Regions from separate parts of the Homo sapiens genome. Here regions 2, 3 and 4 are each linked to region 1. Evidence: promoter capture Hi-C in 16 types of primary human blood cells and fetal thymus (Javierre and others, 2016). All regions are on one chromosome and are shown on one strand. Each heading gives the region's core, a stretch centred on a gene start or on the middle of the fragment in contact. The rest is flanking DNA. Distances are from core to core; before and after follow the strand shown.

Region 1 (2,833 bases), core at 113-2,612:
CAGAGCCGCAGAGTGAGCAGTCTCCTCCCAAGCATCGCTGAGCACTTGGGTGTGGAAGGGTTGCCTGATACTGAGGGTGGGGTTCCTGGAAGACAGGCGATCAGGTTCAGCTCTTGCCTTGCCCTTTATGGTTAAATGTTCTTTGGAAAGCTTCTATATCTTTCAAATCCTGGGGGCATTATGATCTCTCTTCTGCCTATCCCAAACCATCTTCAGCCAGTACTGTTGGGAGAATACAAGCTCCAGGGCATGGTCCCTGGTCCGTCTGGATGACCCCTCCGGATCTGGCATATAGCTGGCGCTCTATGGAACCAGATATTTATGTAAAAGCAGGGACAATGGAATGTGAAAACGTTTCGCAAACTCCAAAGCGATTCATAACCAGACAGAGGTCCAATCCTAGGGTATACGAGCTCTCTCTTTTAAGCACGTATCACAGCTGCTTCTCACGCCACCGAGACGCGGTCAGGACAGGTGCATCCATCTTCTCTGGGCTTCCCCTCTTGAAAGTAGGCCAGGGCGCGCAGGGGTTGAGGGTCTCTCATTCCCAGAGAGAATTAAACTTGGAGGAAAGCAACCACCGGCGAGGAGCGGGGCGCGTGGAAGCGAGCCGCGGTCCGAGGCCCAAAGAAAAGCCCAAGCCTCGCCCCCGCCATCGCGCCCGACGAGACACCTAGGTCCGGGGACGGGTGTGTGCCGCGGAAGTCAGGTGCACTGCGCAGCACTCCCCCGGTAGGTACACGCTCCTCCACCTACGAGTGACCTAATTACAAGGTGCCAGCCGCGCCCAGAGGTGGGGGTGGTTAATCCAAGCGGCCACTCGCTGCCCGTTCCTGCCCCCAAAGATGACGGAAACCCACACGATTACAGAGCCGCAGCACCCCAGATGAGCCACGGGGTCGCAATTCTCGTTTCCGTGATCGGACTGCCAGGCCCCAGGTGAGGAGCTGAGTTCATCACCAGAGCGGCCTTCCCAGGGGAACCAGTTACAGGCTGCCAGTGGCCCCGGCTTCCATCCGGTCTGCGCCTGCGCGCGGCCCAAGCCCTCGCCTCTCCTGGAATAGTGCTCAGGGATTAGTCCGGTTCGCCGCTGTGCGCACTGCGCATGCTCCAGCTCCATCCTTCCCTTCCCCCACCACCCCGCCCTCCGGGAGCCACGCCCAAAAAGTCAAGGCGCTTCAGTTACCAGCCGGCTACGTCGCGCCTGCGCTTTGACCCCCAGTTTGCGCCCCAACTCCGGTCGTGCGGCCGCCCGGGGAGGGCTCTGCAGTTGCGCAGCTTGCTCCCCGGCCCTTTTCCCCTCCGCTCCCCGCCGCCTCCTGACGCCGGGCGTGACGTCACCACGCCCGGCGGCCGCCATTACAGAGAGCCGAGCTCTGGAGCCTCAGCGAGCGGAGGAGGAGGCGCAGCGGCCGACGGCCGAGTACTGCGGTGAGAGCCAGCGGGCCAGCGCCAGCCTCAACAGCCGCCAGAAGTACACGAGGAACCGGCGGCGGCGTGTGCGTGTAGGCCCGTGTGCGGGCGGCGGCGCGGGAGCAGCGCGGAGCGGCAGCCGGCTGGGGCGGGTGGCATCATGGACGAGAAGGTGTTCACCAAGGAGCTGGACCAGTGGATCGAGCAGCTGAACGAGTGCAAGCAGCTGTCCGAGTCCCAGGTCAAGAGCCTCTGCGAGAAGGTGAGCTGTAGTACGGCTGCGGACAGCCGCCGCGGGGCCGAGCCCGCCGAGGAAAAGGCGGCCGTGAGGAGGGTGCAACATGGCGGAGGCCGCCGGTCCGGGCCCCCCGAGTCTCCGAGACCGGCGCCCATCCTGGCCGGCGGCGGCTTCCTAACGACCCGGCGCCCCCTGCCTCCCGCGCAGGGATTGGTTGCCGCCGCCGCCTAAAATGGCGCCGTTCACTCGACTCCTGGGCTTTTGAGTCAGCCGGCCTTGGCGCCAGACGAGGTGGCAGGGGGAGCGGAGACCCTGTGGGTCATCGTCAGGGACGGTTTTGAGGGTGAGCTGGCTTGGATTCTGCGGCTTGGGAATGGAGCCTGGGCCTCTCCGGTGGGCTGAGTAAGAGTCTTGCCGCTGGTACCCAGGCCTAGTTAGGTCCAGAGCTGCCCAGAGGATCCCCCAAAGGCAGTCTTGTTAGGCCGTATCCCAGAACATACCTAAAGGTCACACAGCTTTAGTACCCCTTGGTGGTTTGTATTAAACTCACCAAGCGATCTTCTCCAGAAATCAAGGTAAGGGGTGTCTTTAAGAATTTTTAAATTATTCTCTTAACCTAATTTTTACGAAGGTCATGGTGGTAGCTATAAGGGAGGAGTGTAACTTATTTTTCATAGTTGGAAGAAATCGGGAATTTGGTGAGTCATACTACATAAGGAGCTTTTGGATTGGAAATCAAGTGTCGGTTGAATATGATTTATATGCTGACTCAAAGCCTTCTCTAAGCTTAACACACTTGGCATTTTGCCGTTTATTTTTAAAATGAACAACATAAAATGGAAGAGCGGTAAATTTTGTATCTTTGTTGCAAAAATTACTTGATAGTATTTTGTGGCTGCAAGTAGTAGTAGTGATAATAACTGTCGACTGAGATTGTATTCCAGACATTGTGCTTAGTGTTTAAATAATGTCTCACATACACTGAAAATAGAATGTTGTAGTCCACTTAGTAACACTAAACTTTATATTAGCTAATTCCCTTTTGTTTTCCCCTGGGGGTTGGGGAAACAGGTAGTTAATTTAGCTATTAGCTTTGTGTTGTATTTTTAAATTCTTGTAACTCAGTTTTCTAAAGTACACAAAATGCTGATCTCTGCTGTGAACATTTTAACTTCCCTTTTC
Region 2 (2,833 bases), core at 102-2,601, 680 kb before region 1:
CTGTCCAAAGGATTACCAAACTAACTGAACAAACAAAATAGTCAAAAGCATTTACCTTTTACAAATGCAGTGGTGTAATAACTGAAGGTTAAGTCATGGGAGATGACTCTCTAAACAGGGTGGGTCCCTAATGGAACAGTTACCTTGTTAAAGCTGACTTCCAAGGGGGAGGTCAGGTTTTAAGAAAAGGTTCAGGATCTGGCTACTGGGCTGGAGAAAAATAAGCCAGTCAGGGAAAAGGGTGCAGCCTGGGAGATGACTGAGAGATAGAAATTTAACTGCAGGAAGAAAGAAAAATTACCAACGGCCCAGAAAAAGTCAGGGAAAATAAGTCAAGCAGGTACATCTTCCTCAACCAGTTTTATTCATGCCCCTTTCTGATAAGTATAAAAAGCTCAGGCTGGGCACAGTGGCTCATATCTCTATTCCCAGCACATTGGGAGGCCAAGGCAGGAGGATCGCTTGAGGCCAGGAATTTGAGACCAGTCTGGGCAACATAGCCAGACCCTGCCTCTCCAAACAATGCAAAAATTAGCTGGGCATGGCACATGCCTGTAGTCCCAGCTACTCAGGAGGCTAAGGTGGGAGGATCACCTGAGCCCAGGAGGTCGAGGCAGCAGTAAGCCACAATCATACCACTGTACTCCAGCCTGGGCAACAGAGCAAGACCCTGTCTCAAAAAATAATAATCAATAATAAAAGGCTTACACTCTCTTTTAATGTTATTTGAAATTTCAAAAGAAACTACATATCCTAACCAACACCATACCAAAGCAATAGTGGTTTCAGAATTTGTTTTCCAAGTAACACAAACCACCCTCTTCCCCCAGAGCTAAACACCACCCAGGTGGGTGGTAGCAACTGTCAACAAGGATGTCACTCTATCACTGAATTCTTAAAGAAGGGAAGAGTTGAATCCTAGATCTACATGGGACCAGACAACTGGCAGAATCAGAAAGTGTTATGGCCTAAGGTGACTAAAATAGACCACAGCCCTAGCAAGAATTTATAACAATTACCTGATTAAAATTGTGGAAGGAGAATTCTTTGTAGATGGCATCTCTCTCACTTAATTCCGACCATCCTGCTGCTTTAAGGTCAAGTATAGCTTGGTTCCTCTCCTCTGCAGTCAACCTGTGAGTACCTGATGACTATGAAGAGAACACATTTCATATCTGAAAATGTACAAGTTTACTCAAACTCAAACTTATGGCTCCTTACCTTAAGCAGAGATGTAGAAAAGTCTGAAAGGCAACAAATTCTAACCATCTTTCATTCCTTTGTTCTCTTAAAGAGACCAAAGCAAGGCTAGCTCTGTGCAAAATAAGCTGCCTCCATGGCATGTCACCTCTGGCTCCCTTACTGCTGCCTCAAACTTCACAATTCAGCTTCTCTGGTTGGTTGGTTGGTTGTTTCGAGACAGGGTCTCGCTCTGTCGCCCAGGCTGGAGCGTAGTGGTGCAATCACAGCTCACTGCAACCTCCGCCTCCTGGGCTCAAATGATCCTCCCACCTCAGCCTCCCAAGTAGCTGGGACTACAGGTGCACACCACCACACCCAACTAATTTTTTGTATTTTTGGTAGAGAGGGATTTTCACCATGTTGCTCAGGCTGGCCTTGAATTCCTGAGCTCAAGTGATCTGCCCACCTGGACCTCCCAAAGTGCTGGAATTACAGGCATGAGTGACTGCGCCCGGCCCTTCTGTGGTTTATTACAGATACAACAAAGATTGACTATTACCACCGGCCATCTTGGACACTGCAGAATTCTAGGACTTGTGGCAAGTCTATTGGCAGGACCAGAATTAAAATTCAAGGCTCCAAACTCCTGGTCTATTGCTCTTTGGATGGCCCTACATCACCTCAGTAGCCTTCACTACTCTCTGTTATATCTCTAATAAGCCAGAGAAGCTGAACTGTGACGTTTGAGGCAGCAGTAAGGGGGCCAGAGGGAACATACCATAGAGACAGCTTATTTTGTACAGAGCCAGCCTTGTTTTGGTCTGTCTTTTGAGAACAAAGGAATGAAAGATGGTTTTAACTATTTGGAATTACCATCTCCTGTCACATCTAATGAAAACCAATCCCCGGATGGGGAAAAACAAATGCACATTTACATAGGATTTTATCTAACTTCTGGGGGTCCACAGATCCTCTGGACTACAGGTAAAAAGCCCTGGCCTCAGTGGGGTGGGTTTATGAAGCCCTCTTCTCAGAGCACCAGTCAGACAAACTCTCTCCATAGTTTGGCCAGAGTACTGCCCAGTCCAAAGCACTTGTGTGCACTGTCTGGCCTGTTTCTACGCATCCTGGGGATGACATTCACAAAGCCAGGTTCTGTTGGTTAACAGGCCCACACTTCCCATGCTATTGGTTTTTTAACTGAAATAACTTTAAACATCAGGGCCAGAGAGAAGATATGGACACTTGACTAGAAGTCAGGAAAGCAGGGTTCTCATTCCAGGCAATACTTCTTGCCTTACCTACTTGCAGAGTTACTGTAGGCTCAGGTGAGAGAGAGGCTGTCACCCAGAAAGATGAACATTAGTGAAGGCTCCTCATCAAAGGGCAACTGTGGGCTAAGCTGCATTCCCTGGATTCTCTGCCATTAAGCTGCAACTCACTCCCACTTCAGAAATCCCAAAATCATTTATCACTAATATTAAGAGAGGAAAAAGATTTTACCTTTAGACAACTTTTTCTATGAAGAAAAAAATACTAATAAATCAGTTTTCTAGTTTTTCTTCTTTGCTAGGTCGGCTATTCTTCCCCACAACTAACAAAAGGAAAGAATGAGAGTACCTTTTTTTTTTTTTTTTTTGAGACCAAGTCT
Region 3 (2,833 bases), core at 98-2,597, 590 kb before region 1:
GTCACATGAGCCCTACTGCTAGGTGCATTTCTTTTTTTTTTTTTTTTTTTTTTTTTTGAGACAGAGTCTCGCTCTGTCTCCCAGGCTGGAGTGCAATGGCGCCATCTCAGCTCACTGCAAGATCCGCCTCCCAGGTTCACGCCATTCTTCTGCCTCAGCCTCCTGAGTAGCTGGGACTACAGGTGCCCGCCACCACACCTGGCTAATTTTTTGTATTTTTAGTTGAGATGGGGTTTCACCGTGTTAGGCAGGATGGTCTCATCTCCTGACCTCGTGATCCGCCCACCTTGGCCTCCCAAAGCACTGGGATTACAGGCATGAGCCACCACCGCCAGCCTGCTATGTGCATTTCTTTTAAAAAATGCCCTTTGCCCAACAGTGACTACTGATATCACTGATTACAGAAATACAAGCCCCCTTCAGAAATTTAGATCAGATTAATAAAGCTGTATCTTCTAGATCTCAAATGCACAGAAAAGCTTATTTAGGGCTTAAAAATTAATTGGTTAATTTACAAAGCTCTTTTACTACAATAAAAACAGTCCGTTTAGCTTTTGTATTTTTTTGAGACAGGGTCGCCTTTAACTCCCAGGCTCAAGGGTTCCTCATATCTCGGCCTCCCAAGTAGCTAGGACCACAGCGTGCACTAGCACGTCCAGCTAATTTTTAAAAACCTTTTTATAGAGATGGGGTCTCACTGTGTTGTCTAGGAGGGTCTTGAACTCCTGGGCTCAAGCTATCCTCCCACCATGGCCTTCCAAAGTGTTGGGATTACAGGCCATGAGCCACCACACCCAGCCTTAGATTCTTCTTAAAACATTTATTACCTATTAAAGGGTTTTAGTTATGGCCACGCACAGTGGCTCCTGCCTATAATCCCAGCATTTTGAGAGTTCAAGGCAGGAGGATTACTTGAGCCCAGGAGTTCAAGACCAGCCTGGGCAACATGGCGAAACCTTGTCTCTACAAAAAATATAAAAGTTACCCAGGCATGGTGGCACATGCCTGTAGTCCCAGATATTCAGAAGGCTGAGGTGGGGAATCACCTGAGCCCAGGAGGTCGAGGCTACAGTGAGCCAAGATCACGCCACTTTACTCCAGCCTGGTTGATGGAGTGAGATCCTGTCTCATAAAAACAAAACAAAACAAAACCCCAAGAAAACACCAACAGGGGGTCAGTTATCAACTAGTTTTAAAACTCAACATTTACCTGAGTAAAACCGTTTTAAATTAAATAGCATTCATGGTATTACAATCTGAACAAATTCATAAAATCAGGAAAGGGGGAAGTATACAATGCTAGCTGGTAGAGCTAACCTTACTTTTGATTTTATTCGTGTTAAGTACTGTTTACATTTTTCATAAAATTATATATTACTTTAACACCCGAAGAAACAATCACCGTATTTTATCACAAGATTTTAAAAAACAGTTAAAAATACTGCAGTTTTCCCTTTACACATGGAATACATTCCAAGAACCCCAGTGAATGCCTAAAAACAGAGATAGTACCGCACCGACATACACTGTTTTTTCCTATACATACATACCTATGATAAAGTTTAATTTATAAATTAGGTACAGTTAAGAGATTAACAACAATAAAATAGGACAATTATAGCAATATACTGTAATAAAAGTTATATGAATGTGGTCTCAAAATACTGTAATAGTTTCAGACTGTGGTTAACCTATGGCAACTAAAACCACAGAAAAGAGGAAACTACCATAATGTCAAAAAGTGACAGATGTTTTTAAAACATGGCTACAAATTATTTAATAGTCTTTTTTCTTGAGTGTGGGCTGGACTTAATGACTTCCTTCTAATAGAAGAAAGTGGGCTGGGCATGGTGGCTCATGTTTGTAATACCATCACTTTGGGAGGCTGAGGCAGGAGGATCACTTGAGCCCAGGAATTTCAGACCAACCTAGGCAACACAGTGAGACCTCGACTCTAAAAAAAAAAACATTTTAAAATATATATTAACAGGGCATGGTGGTGCACCCATAGTACCAGCTACTCAAGAGGCTGAGGTGGGAAGATCGCTGAGGCAGCAGTGAGTTGAGTTCGCACCACTACACTCCAGTTTGGGCAACAGAGTCAGACTCTGTTTCCAAAACAAAACAAAACAAGACAAAAAAAACCCCATAAAGAATAAAGTGGAAGTGACAGTGTGTAATTTCAGAGACAGTCATAAAAAGCACTAAAGCTTTCTCTTTGCTCTCTTTGATCACTCACTGTGGGGAAAGCCAGCTGCCATGTGGGTAAGGACAGGCAAAGAGGTGAAGAACTGAGGCATCCTATCTACATCAAAGTGACTGATGTTGGAAGCAGATCATCCAGCAACAGTCAAGCCTGCAGATGACTGCAATCTCACGAGCGCCTAAGCCAGAACTACCTGACTAAACTGCTCCTGATTTCCTGACCATAAGGAACTATGTGATAATAAGTGTTTATTGCTTTAACCTGCTAAGTTTTGATTTGTTACATGGTAACAGATAAATTTAAAAAATGAAATGTGGTCGGGCGTGGTGGCTCACGCCTGTAATCTGAGCACTTTGGGAGGCCGAGGCAGGCGGATCACGAAGTCAAGAGATCAAGATCATCCTGGCCAACATGGTGAAACCCTGTCTCTAGTAAAAATACAAAAAAAATTAGCCAAGCATGGTGGCGCGTGCCTGTCGTTCCAGTTACTTGGGAGTCTGAGGCAGGAGAACCACTTGAACCTGAGAGGCAGAGGTTGCAGTGAGCCAAGATCAAGCCACTGCACTCCAGCCTGGTGACAGAGCGAGACTCCGTCTCAAAAAAAAAAAAATGACTTTATTGGCCAGG
Region 4 (2,833 bases), core at 174-2,673, 510 kb before region 1:
CCAGGAGTTTGAGGCTGCAGTAAGCTATGATCATGCCACTGCACTCCAGCCTGGCCTACAGAGGGAGACCCTGTCTCAAAAAATAAAACAACCTTTAAAGACATAAAATTTTCAAAGCAAAAGAACAAAATATAGAAAGTACCTCAGGTAAGATCATAAATAATGCTTTAAGAATAAATAGCCCGATAGAAAAATGTTTCTTCTATTGTTCTAGAAGAATTTGAAATGGTTTTCTTACCTCTCATTTGAACTGCCTAAAAGTTCAGAGCTATACACCTAAAGCCTTACAGAACAAAAGTCACAAAGATATAAGGAGCTTGCGACCAGTGACTAAAGGCCAATTACTAAAGGAAACACTGGAAACTTAGATAACACTAGGGCGCGCTAATTGCTCAATTATACTCACGTGAAATAAATTTTTTTTAAAGAAAATCATTGGACATGTGTTTGGGGGAGGAAGGAGGCGCTCTCCTTAGAAATGCAGCTCCAGACATCAATCACAACAATATCCCCTCATGAGGAGAGGAAACTCTCAGGTGTGCACTTCGCACTTGCTGGGTCTCTGAAGAATGCTCACTCTCACTTTTCCCACCTTTTCTAGCCGGCCCGTAGGTGACAGTGTTGACGGCACTGAACACAAACACTAGGATATGAGCACAAGAGTCCCTGATACACGTAGGATGAACTAGCGGGCAGTTCAGTAAAGACAGGCTGATGTGGGCGGACAGGAGTTACACAGCAAAAGGCAAAAGAAGGTAGACGCTAGAGAAGGCACTGTAAGGAAAAGCACTTGGAACCTTAAGAAGGAAAGCCATCTTCCTAAGGGGAGCAGTAGACATGACAGTCTGGGGATACAACGTGCGCCCTTCAAGAAAGGCGAGGAGTGGCTAAGGAAAAAAGGGGCTGTTCAACGTAACTGGGAAGAGGGAGTGAGAGCTCTGCAGGCAGGGTGGGGAAAATCTCACGGCGAGGCCCCGGGAAAATTGAGGGGAGCGACTAGGAACATCCTGGGGTTCAGGGATGAGAACTTGGGATATCACCGAAGGGGCGGGACAGAGAGGAAATCAAAGAGCAAGGCTTGGTCAAAAAGGTCAGAGGAGTGGAGGTGGGAGAGGGAAGAATGACCCTGAAGATTCAAGGTGATGGGCGGGAGACTGAGGGGAAATCGAGGCTCTTACCCGCGCCGCTCCCGGGCCTGTGAAAGCCCATGATCCGGTTGATGCGCTGTTCCGAGTTCATGAGCAGCTTTCTCCGACGCAGCTCCGCCCGACGCTGGGAAGCCGACAGACCTGAGCCCGCTGGGACCCCCGGCCTCTCCCCGCCGTCGGTAGCGACGGCCATCGACTCCATCCTCCCGTCCACAGTCTGGGAGGGGTGGCAGTGGCGGTGATGTTGGCCGCCGCTGCGAGGGCGATGACTAGAGGCCGGGCCGCAGGGCGCGCGTCCCCTTCCCACTATAGACCCGCCCCCGAGCGCGGTCCCGGAGCCTGTGAGCTAAGCACTCACGCACCGCCCCACGCGACCAAGCGCGAGGCTCTGGCCGCCATCTTGAGTGAGGGCAGCGCTGGACGCCCTCGTGCCTCCCCAACTCTTCTGGCCCTCACCCAACAGCCCCCTCTGCTGTTCACTCGGAGGTGAAGAAAACCAGCACCCAGGGCCGGGAGTGGTGGCTCACGCCTGTAATCCTAGCACTTTGGAAGGCCGAGGCGGGCGGATCACGAGGTCACGATTTCGAGAGTAGCCTGGCCAACATGGTGACCCCCTCCCCCCTCCCCCCACCCGTCTCTACTAAAAATACAAAAACTTAGCCGGGCGGGGTGGCGCGCGCCTGTAATCCCAGCTACTCGGGAGGCTGAGGCAGGAGAATCTCTTGGACCCAGGAGGCGGAGGTTGCAGTGAGCCGAGATCGCGCCACTGTTCTCCAGCCTGGGCTACAGAGCGAGACTCTGTCTCGAGAAAAAAAAAAAGAAAGAAAAGAAAACCGGGAGTGGGAAAGGGATGGCAGTAAGTAGGTCAGCCTAGATTTGGTGCCAGGAAGCAAAATGGAGGTTGCAGCGGCAGTCGCTTGTTTACAGACCCGCGGCCTCGCCTGTAGGCAATGGGAATACGTAACCCTGGGAGCCGCACTTAAAGGGAGCCTTACGCTGGGATTTGTTCTTGGTGCCTGTTCCTCATCCTTAACTTCTCTACGGCAAAGTATACGGCTGATGTGTTCCTAGGCTTTCCTCGCGTTTTGTGCGTTTTTATTCAAATTAGAATTTCCCATTGAAACCTTTCGTGCACATTCTATCTAAATTGCCAACACTCCCCATTCCCCTTCACCTTGTTTTTTCTCCTTGTCGTTCATGACCACCTCGCATGCTAAAGATGCTCCAGCCTGGGCGACAGAACGAGACTCCGTCTCAAAAAAAAAAAAGGAAAAGAAAAGAAAAAAACAAAAAGGCCGGGAGCGGTGGCTCACGTCTGTAATCCTAACTTTGGGAGGCCGAGGCAGGCGGATCACCTGAGGTCAGGAGTTCGAGACCAGCCTGGCCAATATGGCAAAACCCCGTCTCTACTAAAAATACAAAAATTAGCCTGACCTGGTGGCATGCACCTGTAATCCCAGCTACTTGGGAGGCTGAGGCAGGAGAATCGCTTGAACCTGGGAGGCAGAAATTGCAGTGAGCCGAGATCATGCCACTGCACTCCAGCCTGGGCGACAGAGGGAGACTCCGTCTCAAAAATACATATATAAAAGAAATAAATAAAATAAAATCAGAACAAATGACTGGGCGCGGTGGCTCATGCCTGTAATTCCAGCACTTTGTGAGGGCTGAGATGGGTGGATCAC

Evidence for each region. The method cuts DNA at HindIII sites, captures the fragments that hold promoters and counts their contacts. A CHiCAGO score of 5 or more calls a contact.
Region 2: a fragment that was not itself captured here is called in contact with the fragment with the promoter of PPP2CA in region 1 in 1 of 17 cell types (neutrophils); the score reaches 5.0 in neutrophils.
Region 3: a fragment that was not itself captured here is called in contact with the fragment with the promoter of PPP2CA in region 1 in 1 of 17 cell types (fetal thymus); the score reaches 5.5 in fetal thymus.
Region 4: a contact is called between the fragment with the promoter of CAMLG here and the fragment with the promoter of PPP2CA in region 1, in 11 of 17 cell types (activated CD4 T cells, naive CD8 T cells, neutrophils and 8 more). The highest score is 9.8, in activated CD4 T cells.

Annotation. Positions count from the first base shown.
Region 1 is chr5:134,224,602-134,227,434 of GRCh38, reverse strand. It overlaps PPP2CA (protein phosphatase 2 catalytic subunit alpha), which reads left to right and starts at 1,362. Exons shown (of 7, transcript NM_002715.4): 1 at 1,362-1,675. The coding sequence starts at 1,574. MIR3661 (microRNA 3661) reads right to left here and starts at 1,678; the gene lies at 1,583-1,678. PPP2CA-DT (PPP2CA divergent transcript) reads right to left here and starts at 1,025. Exons shown (of 1, transcript NR_186539.1): 1 at 1-1,025. RefSeq lists enhancers at 62-581, 423-582, 582-1,103, 1,104-1,623, 1,963-2,072. The HindIII fragment of the contact is 2,287 bases long and covers 153-2,439 here.
Region 2 is chr5:134,908,653-134,911,485 of GRCh38, reverse strand. It overlaps PCBD2 (pterin-4 alpha-carbinolamine dehydratase 2), which reads right to left. Exons shown (of 4, transcript NM_032151.5): 2 at 1,020-1,151. Among named protein-coding and RNA genes, the nearest start is that of PCBD2, 4.9 kb to the right of the region's middle. The HindIII fragment of the contact is 3,581 bases long and covers 1-2,833 here.
Region 3 is chr5:134,812,931-134,815,763 of GRCh38, reverse strand. The region is part of intron 18 of DDX46 (DEAD-box helicase 46); the gene reads right to left. Among named protein-coding and RNA genes, the nearest start is that of C5orf24, 32 kb to the left of the region's middle. The HindIII fragment of the contact is 1,731 bases long and covers 482-2,212 here.
Region 4 is chr5:134,737,138-134,739,970 of GRCh38, reverse strand. It overlaps CAMLG (calcium modulating ligand), which reads right to left and starts at 1,423. Exons shown (of 4, transcript NM_001745.4): 1 at 1,179-1,423. The coding sequence starts at 1,350. RefSeq lists an enhancer at 1,786-1,835. The HindIII fragment of the contact is 13,475 bases long and covers 1-2,833 here.